4 separate regions of the Homo sapiens genome follow, and all the other regions are linked to region 3. Evidence: promoter capture Hi-C in human tissues and cell types (Jung and others, 2019). All regions are on one chromosome and are shown on one strand. The core of a region is centred on a gene start or on the middle of the fragment in contact, and the rest is flanking DNA. Distances in the headings are between cores, read along the strand shown. Region 1 has its middle 350 kb from the start of LINC01911. Region 2 has its middle 430 kb from the start of LINC01911. Region 3 holds the start of ACVR2A (activin A receptor type 2A). Region 4 has its middle 290 kb from the start of LINC01911.

Evidence for each region. The method cuts DNA at HindIII sites, captures the fragments that hold promoters and counts their contacts. A contact is called where the count stands out against the background at its distance.
Region 1: a contact is called between a fragment that was not itself captured here and the fragment with the promoter of ACVR2A in region 3, in 1 of the 25 tissues and cell types used here (lymphoblastoid cells).
Region 2: a fragment that was not itself captured here is called in contact with the fragment with the promoter of ACVR2A in region 3 in 1 of the 25 tissues and cell types used here (mesenchymal stem cells).
Region 4: a contact is called between a fragment that was not itself captured here and the fragment with the promoter of ACVR2A in region 3, in 1 of the 25 tissues and cell types used here (dorsolateral prefrontal cortex).

What each region holds. Positions count from the first base shown.
Region 1 is chr2:147,183,642-147,186,887 of GRCh38, reverse strand. No RefSeq gene overlaps it. Among named protein-coding and RNA genes, the nearest start is that of LINC01911, 350 kb to the right of the region's middle. The HindIII fragment of the contact is 5,957 bases long and covers 1-3,246 here.
Region 2 is chr2:147,264,457-147,267,528 of GRCh38, reverse strand. No RefSeq gene overlaps it. Among named protein-coding and RNA genes, the nearest start is that of LINC01911, 430 kb to the right of the region's middle. The HindIII fragment of the contact is 5,441 bases long and covers 1-3,072 here.
Region 3 is chr2:147,843,472-147,846,320 of GRCh38, reverse strand. It overlaps ACVR2A (activin A receptor type 2A), which reads right to left and starts at 1,292. Exons shown (of 11, transcript NM_001616.5): 1 at 1,114-1,292. The coding sequence starts at 1,168. RefSeq lists silencers at 851-930, 1,686-1,795, 1,876-2,065 and an enhancer at 2,192-2,849. The HindIII fragment of the contact is 7,112 bases long and covers 1-2,849 here.
Region 4 is chr2:147,129,672-147,132,693 of GRCh38, reverse strand. No RefSeq gene overlaps it. Among named protein-coding and RNA genes, the nearest start is that of LINC01911, 290 kb to the right of the region's middle. The HindIII fragment of the contact is 4,380 bases long and covers 1-3,022 here.

The sequences.
Region 1 (3,246 bases), core at 721-3,220, 660 kb after region 3:
TTTGTTTGTGTCCTCTCTTATTTGTTTGAGCAGTGGTTTGTAGTTCTCCTTGAAGAGATCCTTCACATCCCTTGTAAGTTGCATTCCTATGTATTTTATTCACTTTGTAGCAATTGTGAATGGGAGTTTACTCATGATTTGGCTCTCTGTTATTGGTGTATAGGAATGCTTGTAACTTTTGCACATTGATTTTGTATCCTGAGACTTTGCTGAAGTTGCTTATCAGCTTAAGGAGTTTTGGGGCTGAGATGATGGGGGTTTCTAAATATACAATCGTATCATGTGCAAACAGAGACAATTTGACTTCCTCTCTTTCTATGTGAATGCCTTTTGTTTCTTTCTCTTGCCTGATTGCCCTGGCCTGAACTTCCAATACTATGTTGAATAGGAGTGGTGAGAGAGGGCATCCTTTTCTTGTGCCAGTTTTCAAAGGGAATGCTTCCAGCTTTTGCCCATTCAGTGTGATATTGGCTGTGGGTTTGTCGTAAATAGTTTTTATTTTTCGAGATACATTCCATCAATACATAGTTTATTGAGTGTTTTTAGTATGAAGGGGTGTTGAATTTTATCGAAGGCCTTTTCTGCATCTATTGAGATAATCAGGTGGTTTTTGTCATTGGTTCTGTTTGTGTGATAGATTACGTTTGTTGATTTGCATATGCTGAACCAGCCTTGCATCCCAGGGGTGAAGCTGACTTGATCGTGGTCGATAAGCTTTTTAATGTGCTACTGGATTCGGTTTGCCAGTATTTTATTGAGGATTTTTGCATCGATGTTCATCAGGGATATTGACCTGAAATTTTCTTTCTTTGTTGTGTCTCTGTAGGTTGTGGTATCAGGATGATACTGGCCTTATAAAGTGAGTTAGGGAGGAGTCCTTCATTTTCTATTGTTTGGAATAGTTTTAGAAGGAATGGTACCATCTCCTCTTTGTACCTCTGGTAGAATTCAGCTATAAATCCATCTGGTCCTGGGCTTTTTTTTGGTTGGTAGGCTATTAATTAATGCCTCAATTTCAGAACTTGTTATTGGTCTATTCAGGGATTTGACTTCTTCCTGGTTTAGTCTTGGGAGGGTGTATGTGTCCAGGGATTTATCTGTTTCTTCTAAATTTTCTGGTTTATTTGCTTAGAGGTGTTTGTAGTATTCTCTGATGGTAGTTCGTATTTCTGTGGGATCAGCGGTGATATCCCCTTTATCATTTTTTATTATGTCTATTTGATTCTTCTCTCTTTTATTCTTTATTAATCTGGCTAGTGGTCTATCTATTTTGTTAATCTTTTCAAAAACCAACTGCTGGATTCATTGATTTTTTTTAAGGGTTTTTTGTGTCTCTATCTCCTACAGTTTTGCTCTGATCTTATTTATTCTTCTGCTAGCTTTTGAATTTGTTTGCTTTTGCTTCTCTAGTTCTTTTAATTGTGTTTTTAGGGTGTCAATTTTAGATCTTTCCCACTTTCTCCTGTGGGCATTTACTGCTATAAATTTTCCTCTGAACACTGCTTTAGCTGTGTCACAGAGATTCTGGTACATTGTGTCTTTGTTCTCATTGGTTTCAAAGAGCTTTATTTCTGCCTTCATTTCGTTATATACCTAGTAATCAGAGAGATCCTCTGTTACCTAGGTTGTTCAGTTTCCAAGTGGTTGTGCGGTTTTGAGTGAGTTTCTTAATCCTGAGTTCTAATTTGATTGCACTGTGGTCTGTGAGACTGTTTGTTATAATTTCCATTCTTTTCCATTTGCTGAGTAGTGTTTTACTTCCAATTATATGGTCAATTTTAGGATAAGTGCTATGTGGTGCTGAGAAGAACATATATTCTCTTGATTTGGGGTGCAGAGTTCTGAAAATGTCTATTAGGTCCACTTGGTCCAGAATTGAGTTCAAGTCCTGAATATCATTGTTAAATTTCTGTTTCGTTGATCTGTCTAATATTGACAGTGGGATGTTAAAGTCCCTCACTATTATTGTGTGGGAGTCTAAGTCTCTTTGTGCGTTTCTAAGAACTTGCTTTATGAATCTGGGTGCTCCTGTATTGGGTGTATATATATTTAGGATAGTTAGCTCTTCTTCTTGATCCCTTTACCACTATGTAATGCCCTTCTTTATCTTTTTTGATGTTTGTTGGTTTAAAGTCTGTTTTATCAGAGACTAGGATTGCAACCCCTGCTTTTTTTGCTTTCCATTTGCTTGTTAAATTTTCCTCCATCCCTTTATTTTGAGCCTATGTATGTCTTTGCATGTAAGATGGGTCTCCTGAATACAGCACACTGATGGGTCTTGACTCTATCCAATTTGCCAATCTGTGTCTTTTAATTGGGGCATTTAGCCCATTTACATTTAAGGTTAATATTGTCATGTGTGAGTTTGATCCTGTCATTATGATGCTATCTGGTTATTTTGCCCATTAGTTGATGCAGTTTCTTCATAGTGTCGTTGGTCTTTACATTTTGGTATGTTTTTGCAGTGGCTAATACCAGTTTTTCCTTTCCATATTTAGTACTTTCTTCAGGAGTTCTTGTAAGGCAGGCCTGGTGGTGACCAAATCTCTTAGCATTTGCTTGTCTGTAAGGGATTTTATTTCTCCTTTGCTTAGTTTGGCTGGATATGAAATTCTGGGTTGAAAATTCTTTTCTTTAACAACATTGAATATTGGCCCCTACTGTCTTCTGGCTTGTAGGGTTTCTGCAGAGAGATCCTCTGTTAGTCTGATGGGCTTTCCTTTGTGGATAACCTGGGCTTTCTCTCTGGCTGCCCTTAACATTTTTTCCTTCATTTGAACCTTGGTGAATCTGATGGTTATGTGCTTGGTATTGCTCCTCTTGAGGAGCAGCTTTGTGGTGTTCTCTGTATTTCTTGAATTTGAATGTTGGCCTGTCTTGCTGGGCTGGGGAAGTTCTCCTGGATAATATCCTGAAGCGTATTTTCCACCTTGGTTCCATTCTCCCCATCACTTTCAGGTATACCAATCAAACATAAGTTTGGTCTTTTCACATAGTTCCAAATTTCTTGATAGCTTTGTTCATTCCTTTTCATTCTATTTTCTCTAATGTTGTCTTCACCCTTTATTTCCTTAAGTTGATCTTCAATCTCTGATAGCCTTTCTTCCGCTTGACTGATTCCGGCTATTGATACTTGTGTATGCTTCACGAGGTTCTCTTGCTGTGTTTTTCAGTTCCATCAGGTCATTTATGTTCTTCTCTGAGCTGGTTATTCTAGTTAGTTCCTGTAACCTTTTATCAAGGTTC
Region 2 (3,072 bases), core at 374-2,873, 580 kb after region 3:
TATTTCATAGATCCCTCAGCAAGAACTCCTAGCCAGCTTTCCCACACTGCTGGGATAATTCTTTTGAGATTGCTGCCTTTTGGGAGAGTGGAACTCCAATCATTTACTGAAGTCAAGGTGAAACTGGGCTTAAGGTACCACATATAGCCAAAAATGAGGCAGCTACCTAACAGTAAAGATTTGCTAGGCAAACATAGCCAATAAAAAACAAAATAAGCCAGGGAAATAAAATGGAAATAAATAAATAACCCTTCAGTACAAATACACACAAGCAACAATAGCAAACAGGGAACTACGATTTCCCCAAAAGGAAAAAGCAAGTTTCCAACGACTGACCTTAGTGAGACAACAATTTATGAACTCTCTGACCAAGAATCCAAAATAGCAGTTTTAAGGAAACTCAGTGATATCCAAGATAATACAGAAAGCAATTCAGAAATTTATTAGAGAAAATTAAGAGATTGAAATAATTTAAAAATCAAACAAAAATTTTATAACTGAGAAATACATTTGCTGACATCAAGAACCTATTAGAGGCTTTCACCAGCAGAATGGACCAAGCAGAAGAAAAAAATTAGTGAGCTTGAAGACCATATATTTATAAACACACATTCAGTGGCAAAAAAAAGGATGAAAATAAATGAAGACCACCTATGAGATATAGAAATTACCCCGAAAGACAAAATCTAAGAATTATTGTTTTTCAAGAGGGAGCTTGGTGACAGCAAGGGTTAGAAACCTTACTCAAAGAAGTAATAGCAGAAAACTTTCCAAAACTTGAGAAAGATGTAAATATTCAGGTACAGAAACATCTGAGAACACCAAACAGATCCAACCCAAATTCTATCCAACACATATAATAATAAAACTCTCAAAAGTCAAGGACAAAGAGAGGATACTAAAAGCAGCAAGGGAAAATAAGCAAATCACATGTAGAGGATCTCCAATTTGTCTGGCAACAAAGTTCTCAACAGAAACTGTACAGTCCAGGAAGGAGTGGAATGACATTTTCAAAGTACTCAAGGAAAAAAACTGCCATTTGAGAATACTGTAACCAGCAAAATTATCCTTCAAAAATGAAGGAGAAATGAAGTCTTTCCCAGAAAAACAAAATTGAGAGAATTTACCACCACTAGACCCATCTTACAAGAAATGCTAAAAAGAGTTCTTCAATCTGAAAGAAAAGAAACCACTAACATGCAAAAAGAAAACTTTTCAAGGTATGAAACCCAATGGTAAACTTAAGTATATGAATAAAGCCAGAATACTCTATTACTGTAACTGTGGTTTGCAATCTGCTTATAACTCTGGTATGAAGCCCAAAAGACAAATCTATCAGAAACAATAATAGCTACAACAACTAAGAGATAGGTAATATAAAAATATGTATATTGAGACAACTCAACATCGAAATGTGGGGGGAGATGGAGTTAAACTGTGCATTTTTTGTTGTTGTTGCTTTTGTTTCTATTCTTTTCTTTGTGATCCAAGTTGTCATCTCTTTAGAATAACTTGTTATATCTATAAGATGTTTTTTGTAAGCTTCGTGGTAACCACAGCACAAAAACCTATAATAGATTCACTAAAAATAAAAAGCAACAAATTAAAACATACTACGAGAGAAAATCACTTAACCACAAAGGAATACAGTAAGAAAGGAAGAGAGGAGTCTCAGAGCAACCAGAAAACAGGCAACAAAATGGCTGTAGTGTGTCCTTACCTATCAAAAACAACACTGAATGTAAATGGTCTCAATTTGCTAATTAAAGATCACAGAATGGCCAAATGAATAAAGAAACAGAAACTTCAAGAAACCCACTTCACCTATAAAAACACACATAAACTAAAAGTGAAGGGGTTTTGAAAATGATATTGCATACAACTGGAAGCCAAAGGAGTAGCTATACTTATATCAGGCAAAACAGATTACAAATCTAAGATTGTAAAAAGAGATAAAGAAGGTCAGTATATAATGATAGAAGAGTCAATTCAGCAAGAGAATATAACAATTATAAATAGCTATGCACCCAACACTGGAGCTCCCAAGTATATAAGGCAAACATAAATAGATCTAAAGGGAGGATAGACTGGAGTACAATAATAGTTGGGGACTTTAACACCCCACTGTTAGTAATAGACAGATAACCTGGACAGAAAATCAACAAAGGAACAGTGGAGTTAAACTACACACGAGATTAAATAGTCCTAAGTGACATTTACAGAATATTTCAACCAACTGCTACAGTCAACATATGTTGCTCAGAGGTTGGGTTATACTCCGAGGTCGCCCCAACCGAAATTTTTAATGCAGGTCTGGTAGTTTAGAGCCTGTGGGTCTATTTGGTCTTATACACATTTTTTTCATCAGCACATGAAACATTCTGAAGAATGTTCTATATCTTAGGCTACAAAATAAGTCTGAATAAAATTTTAAAAAATCATATCAAGTATCTTTTCTAACCACAATAAAATAAAACTAGAAATCAATAACAATAGTAACCTTGAAAAAAATACATAAACATATGGAAATTAAACCACATGCCCTTGAATGCCCAACAGGTTAATGTACAAATCAAAAAGAAAATTAATACATTTCTTGAAACAAATGAAAATGAAAATACAACATATCAAAATCAATCGGATATGGCAAAAGCAGTACTAAGAGGGAAGTTTACAACAATAAATGTCTATATCAAAAAAGTAGAAAGACTTCAAGTAAACAACCTAACAATTTACCTTAAGGAACTAGAAGATTAAGAACAAGACAAACTCAGAATTTGTGGAAAGAAAGAAATAATAAAGATCACAGTAGAAATAAATAGAATTGAGAGTAAAAAAATACAGAGGATCAATGAAACAGAAAGTTACTCTATTAAAAAGATAAACAAAATAAATAAAGCTTTAGCTAGATTAACTGAGAGTAAAGAGAGAAGACCCAAATAAACAAAATCGTATATGACAAAGGAGGCATAACAGCTGAGACCTCAGAGATACAAAGGATCATTAGAGACAATTACAAAAACTGTACATCAATAAATTGGAAAACATAGAGGAAATGGATAAATTCTGGAA
Region 3 (2,849 bases), core at 43-2,542:
CATGGCCATGAAACCTGTCAATTCGCCCCCGTTTCCAAGAGTCCCCCGTAATTCTATGCCACAAGCTTGTAACTGAATATTAAATTTTACAATAAATAGATCCAATGAGACTTATTTAAAATGTTTCATCTATTGAACTAACTCTCCTGTTATGTACATCTGCACACCTTTCAGCTAGATGCTGTATTTATTTATAGAATTTCAAATACAAAAGACTAGATAGTTTTTCCAACCACTGGTTGCAACCATAGAACGTCCTCACAAAATCAAAATTTCCAATATAAAATGGCCCGTTTATTCCCCCAACCTTGAGCTAAAACCTATTTTATGAGTGTACTATATTTAACAAAAACAATTTCACATGGGTTGTTCTAAACCGAAAACAATGCTTCAATACAAAGCGTTTAAAATAAGTATTCCGTAGGTAAGCAAAATCTATGCCCCAAAAGAGCACACAAATGGTGGTTGAACGCCAGCACATTACCAATACCAAGCGGCATACCTCTTCTGCACTGGGTTATAGTTAATACTCCAACAACAACTACAACTATTTTTAACACTGCTGGACGCTGAAGTTGAAGAAAACGTGAGGGGAGACCCAGATTAAATTGCTGATAGGATGTATTGTTTCCCACAGCCAAAATTAAGCAGCAACTGGCTTGATCTATGTCGTGATATTCACCGGTGAAGCACTAATTAAACGATGACAAAAAGCAACCCTTGTTTTGGAGGAGCCCACACTAAATACTCCTTTCAGATCTCAACCTTTGCATAAATTGTCACTTGTGGTATTTGCGGCTTAATTGCAACCCAACCAGCGCTGTCATCCAGTGTTATGGCCACAAAACATGACTTTCTCACTTCCACAACAACACAGCACTCACTCTTATCAGCTCGCCGACCCAACTCAAAAAGAGAAAAATGCATGGAGGTTTCCAGATCACAATCAGACCTGGGGGCGGGGGGGGGGGGCGGTGGCAGCCGAGGGGCGCAGGGAGTGGGCAACCTCCCCAGGCTCCACTGGACTCTCCGACTCAACACCAGCCGCGGCCCCCAGCAGCGGCCGCCGCGGCCGCAGGAGCAGCCCCACCGCGCCGCGCTCCCTGCACCTACCTGAAGAACAGGAGATAAGAAAGACGGCAAACGCCAACTTTGCAGCAGCTCCCATTTTCCCGAGGCGCCGGGGAATCCGGAGGAAGTTCTCGCTAGATATCCAGTTCCCTGGGTCTTCCTCGGAGACAAACCTCCTGGTGTAAAATCAACCGTCATAAAACATATTCGGAAGCCCAGACCAAAAAAAAAAAAAAAAAAAAAAAAAAACGCTCACTGGGTTAAAAAAAAAAAAGAAAAAAAAGAGCACAACGATAAAAAATAAAATGCACCACGGGGGAAAAACCGCCACACACACGCACAACACACAAAACCAAACAACGAAAAGCCAACAACAACAAAAGCGGGTTTAAATCACTGTCAAAATCACTGTCAGCTCCGCTCGCCTCTCCCGTCTCTCGGAACAAAACGCCAGGCTGAGGCGACGAAGAGGCGGCGGCGGCAGCGGCGTCCGCTGCCGCCCGGACAGTCTGGGAACTGACTGGGTCCGATGTCCGGACCGACCTTCAACCCAGACACCTAAAGTCCGAGGACCACTGGCGGCCGAGCTCGCGGCGGTGGCGGCGAGGCGGCTGCGGCGCGGGGAAGGGGCGGCGGGCGGCAGCGGCGGCGGCGGTGCAGGCGGCGGCCAAGTTCTGGTCCAGGCTCTGGCTCCAGCTCCGGGCTCCGGGCTCGGCCGCGTTTTCGGTCTCCTGGCCTCCGCCGGGCTCCGCCCCCCAAACTTCCGGTTCCGGCCCGAAGCTGGAAGCCAGGCGCAGCGGAGGAACGCTCGGCGGCAGCGGCGGCGGCGGCGGCGGCGGCAGCGGCGGCCGGGCGCAGCGCGCGTGCCGGGCCGGGAGCGCGAGGAGATTGTCGGGGAAGCGAGGCGGGAGCGGGGGAGGGGTGAGAGAGCGAGGGCGGGGCGGAGTGGAGGGCGAGGAGGCGGGGCGGACGGAGGCTCGATACCGCGAGGCCTCGGCGTCCGGCCTGCTTGGGCTAGAGATACCGCGACAAAGGGGCGCGGGCGCCTCAAAGTCCCTAAGCTGTGGCTGGGCTGTGGCCGGGCGAGTAGATGCGGGCTAGGCCGGGCACGACCCGTTTCCAAATCGCGTCCGACGGGCCTGTCTGGAGCGCCCACCCAAAGGGTCAGGAGAAGCCCAAGAGGAAGAGGACCCCGAGGTGGGGCGAGTGGCCAGGGACTTCTCCAAGGGGCGTCTGCGGCGCCCAGTCTTTCCTCTGGGGGGACGCCTCGTCCGCTCTGATACCGAGGAGTCGGTGGAAGGCGGACGTGGGAGCTGTTTCGCCGCGCCCGCCGAGCTGCCCAGGCGAGCTCGCGACGCGCGAGCTGGTGTGTGCGCCCCCAGACTTAGCACTGCGTCCCACCGCTGCAGCTTCTGCACACGCGTGCTGTCTTGGTGACTAGAAAAGAAAAAGAAAAAACTCACGGAGGAAGGGCTGTCCACCCGCTCAGGATATTCACGCCATTTATCACGATGCGCAACTTGAATCCATTCCCGCCGTTCCTTTTACACACAAAGCATTGTGTTGAAAACTGTTTTGCACGTAATAGGTGCGCAAATACTTGTTTACTGCGCTTTGAAGAAAAAAATGAGGATTTCGAACGACATATTTGATGATCAGACAAGTGATTACTTGTCAAAATTTTAGCTATTTAAGGGCCTGTTTTTACCCCTTAATCCATGTCGATTGCTTACAAGCTGGTGTGCTAGGCACGGAATGGGATCCAACAGGTAAAAATA
Region 4 (3,022 bases), core at 226-2,725, 710 kb after region 3:
GTGGCAAGTGAAACCTGAGTAATACATCTGTCAATACACAGTGCATTATGTTTGTTTACACATAATATGATATAAAATTATTTCTGCATATATCCTTTTCAAATGTATGTTTGCAGTAGGTGAAACAATATATTACCAGTTAATCACTTCTATACACAGAAATGGAAATTGCAAATCATCTTGCAGCAGAGTTCTCTCATTATAGGAAGATTTACTTGAGTAATTCTTCTTAGTTAAGCAGTTGCTGGGCAAGAAAGTGCCATTGTGCTGGGGGAATCTTTTTTTTTAATTTTATTATTATACTTTAAGGTTTAGGGTACATGTGCACAATGTGCAGGTTTGTTACATATGTATACATGTGCCATGTTGGTGTGCTGCACCCATTAACTCGTCATTTAGGGGAATCTTATAATAGAAACAATTTTGGTCCCTGGCCTCTTGGTTTTCAGAGTTAGTGTTTGGGGAGAAGGATGAAGAAAAGCCACGAAATTGTTTATGAAGGATGGGGTTAAGATTCTAACCTCTTATCTCTGAGATTAGGAGTAAGGGAAACCTACCTGGGTGGACAAAGCTAGTTGGTGCTAAAGGATGCCAGAAGTCCTAGAGAGGCTCTGACTATAAGTTAAATGGCTGGCAACCTCATCTCAGTATAGATTCTGGTGCTTTTATAGGAGATTAGAGCTAGTGTGGCATGTGTCTGAGCCAAGATGTACCTGCAGGTCCTGCCACCCTTTGGAGAAGAATGACTGAAGGTACTAGGAGTCTTGTTTGAGGAACTATGGAGGTGCTGACAGGAAACAGAATGACAAAGGCGTCACTGCACACTACATTCATGTTCCTTGTGCCACAGGGTATTATTGTTCAGTAGCAATCATTCAACGCCAATATGGCAGTGGTCATGAACCGGTGGGATTTTACAGTTCTTTCTCCACTTGGTGTTTAGAAGGACATGGTATATTTTTTCCAAGTAAGCCCAAATATTATCTAATAGGATTCATGGAAATTTTGCTAATAGAAGCCTATGGAAATTTGATGATAAATTGAAAAAGAGTTATTACTATATTTGTATCCCAAGCTTATAAAGTGGGTAACACTACTTGAATATGCATACTACCATGATTTGAAATATTCAACATTATTTAAGCACACTATTGAATACATAATAGTCTTTTGGAATTTTGTATTTTATTAATCAGCAGATACCCTATGGGAATTTGAAAGTTTATCAGTATAAATAAGGGATTCCCATTATCAGAAGGAATTACTGAATTAAGAGGAGTAGCAAGCAAACAACCTTAAACTTCATATGAGTTTTCCATATTGTTTCTACTGCTCAAAACTCTTAATAAACACATTTTTAAAAGGCTGTACCTGATCCAGGGGCATCCTTAAGGAAAGATCTGGGCTGCATTTTGCTTCTGGGGGAAGGGAGAAATTCTATTTGAAACAACCAGTGGGAACTTGTTAGTCTTTAGAGCCCTTAGAAGAAAAGCAAGAGGTGACAGGTAGCCAGATGTATTAGTTTGCTAGGACTGCCATAGCAAAAACACCACAGATTGGGAGGCTTAAACAACATAAATTTATTTTCTTTAAATTCTGGAAGCTAGAAGTTCCAGATCAAGACGTTGGCAGGTTTGGTTTCTCCTGAAGCCTCTTTTCTTCACTTGAAGATGGATCCCTTCTTTCTGTGTCCTCATATGATGGTCCCTTGGTCTGTACGTGTCTCTGTCCTCATTCCTCTTCTTACAGAGATACCAGTCTCCTCTGTAAGGAGGCCCCACCCATATGACCTCCTTTTGCCTTAATTATCTCACTAAAGACCCTATCTCCAAATCTAATCACATTCTGAGGTACTAGGGATTAGGACTTCAACATAAGAATTTTGGGGAGGGACATGACTCAGCCCATATCACCAAGTGAGACTTTTAAGACAGGCCCCCAAGTATGACAACAGCAAGGTTCCAGGATCCATAGTTTTTCCTCCTTGGGACTTGATGCCATGTTCTGAGCTCCCAATAGCCCTCAAGTCTCTGAAATCTCAGCCTTTGCTGTGTTGAGGCAGGGCTGTTCAGCTCCTGTTGGAAGGTGAAGGAAGAAGGAGACATAAGGAAGACACTGGCTCAGGCATACCGACTTGGAACTGGAAACCAGTTTTAATGTGGAAACACTTTTCTATGTCATGATCAGTTTCTTTTAGATTATCAATTTTCTTTTCAGATATGTAATTGGATAAAATGACTTTCTAGAGTTGGCTGATTGTTTGCCACAATAACATTGTATATATGCTTGCTAACTCACAAAAGGTCAAACAACTATTATTGATAACCTAGTCACAGATGGAGTCTGCCTGTACATCCTTTACTTTTCCCTTCGAGGTCGATTATAATGCTTCTTAAATATGTTTTGATTGATTACTTTTTGGCTCACAGACTTTTTGTAAAACATCTTCAGGCTGCCTCAGGCTGTGAGCAATTGTGGAGGATGGTCAAGTTATACAAGAGGGAGAACTGACTCTACATATTTTTTAAAAATTCTGGTAGTCATGACTCTGGTCAACTAGATTGAGCAGAGACAAAATCAACATCAGATTCATGAATTCATGCAAGAATCCTTACAAGAAAAATGATTACACTTTTTCTCTTAACAGAAACAGCTGGTGTCAGTGATATGGATGGCTGAAGTTTTATTTGTATGACAGCGGTTGGTATAATAGCCCTTCTGCTTCTTACATTTAAAATACCCCATAGAGAAGCTTGCTACTGAGAGAATGGCAAGACAGGGGCCTTAAACTCCAGAAGAGGCAGAAATCCTGGGAAAGCTCCTCTTCTTGTATTGAACTAGGGAAGGCTGTTTTTTTTTTTCCACCCCTTAACGGAATCCTCCCATGACTTAACCATTTCGAAGAGGACCTGTAAGATTTTCATAAATATAATTGCTTTTCATTTTTCCTGAAGAAATAATAAGAGAAAATGGGCAAAAAAAAACTGAAGTGAAGGTTGCATTAGTCTTAGTGAAGACTAAG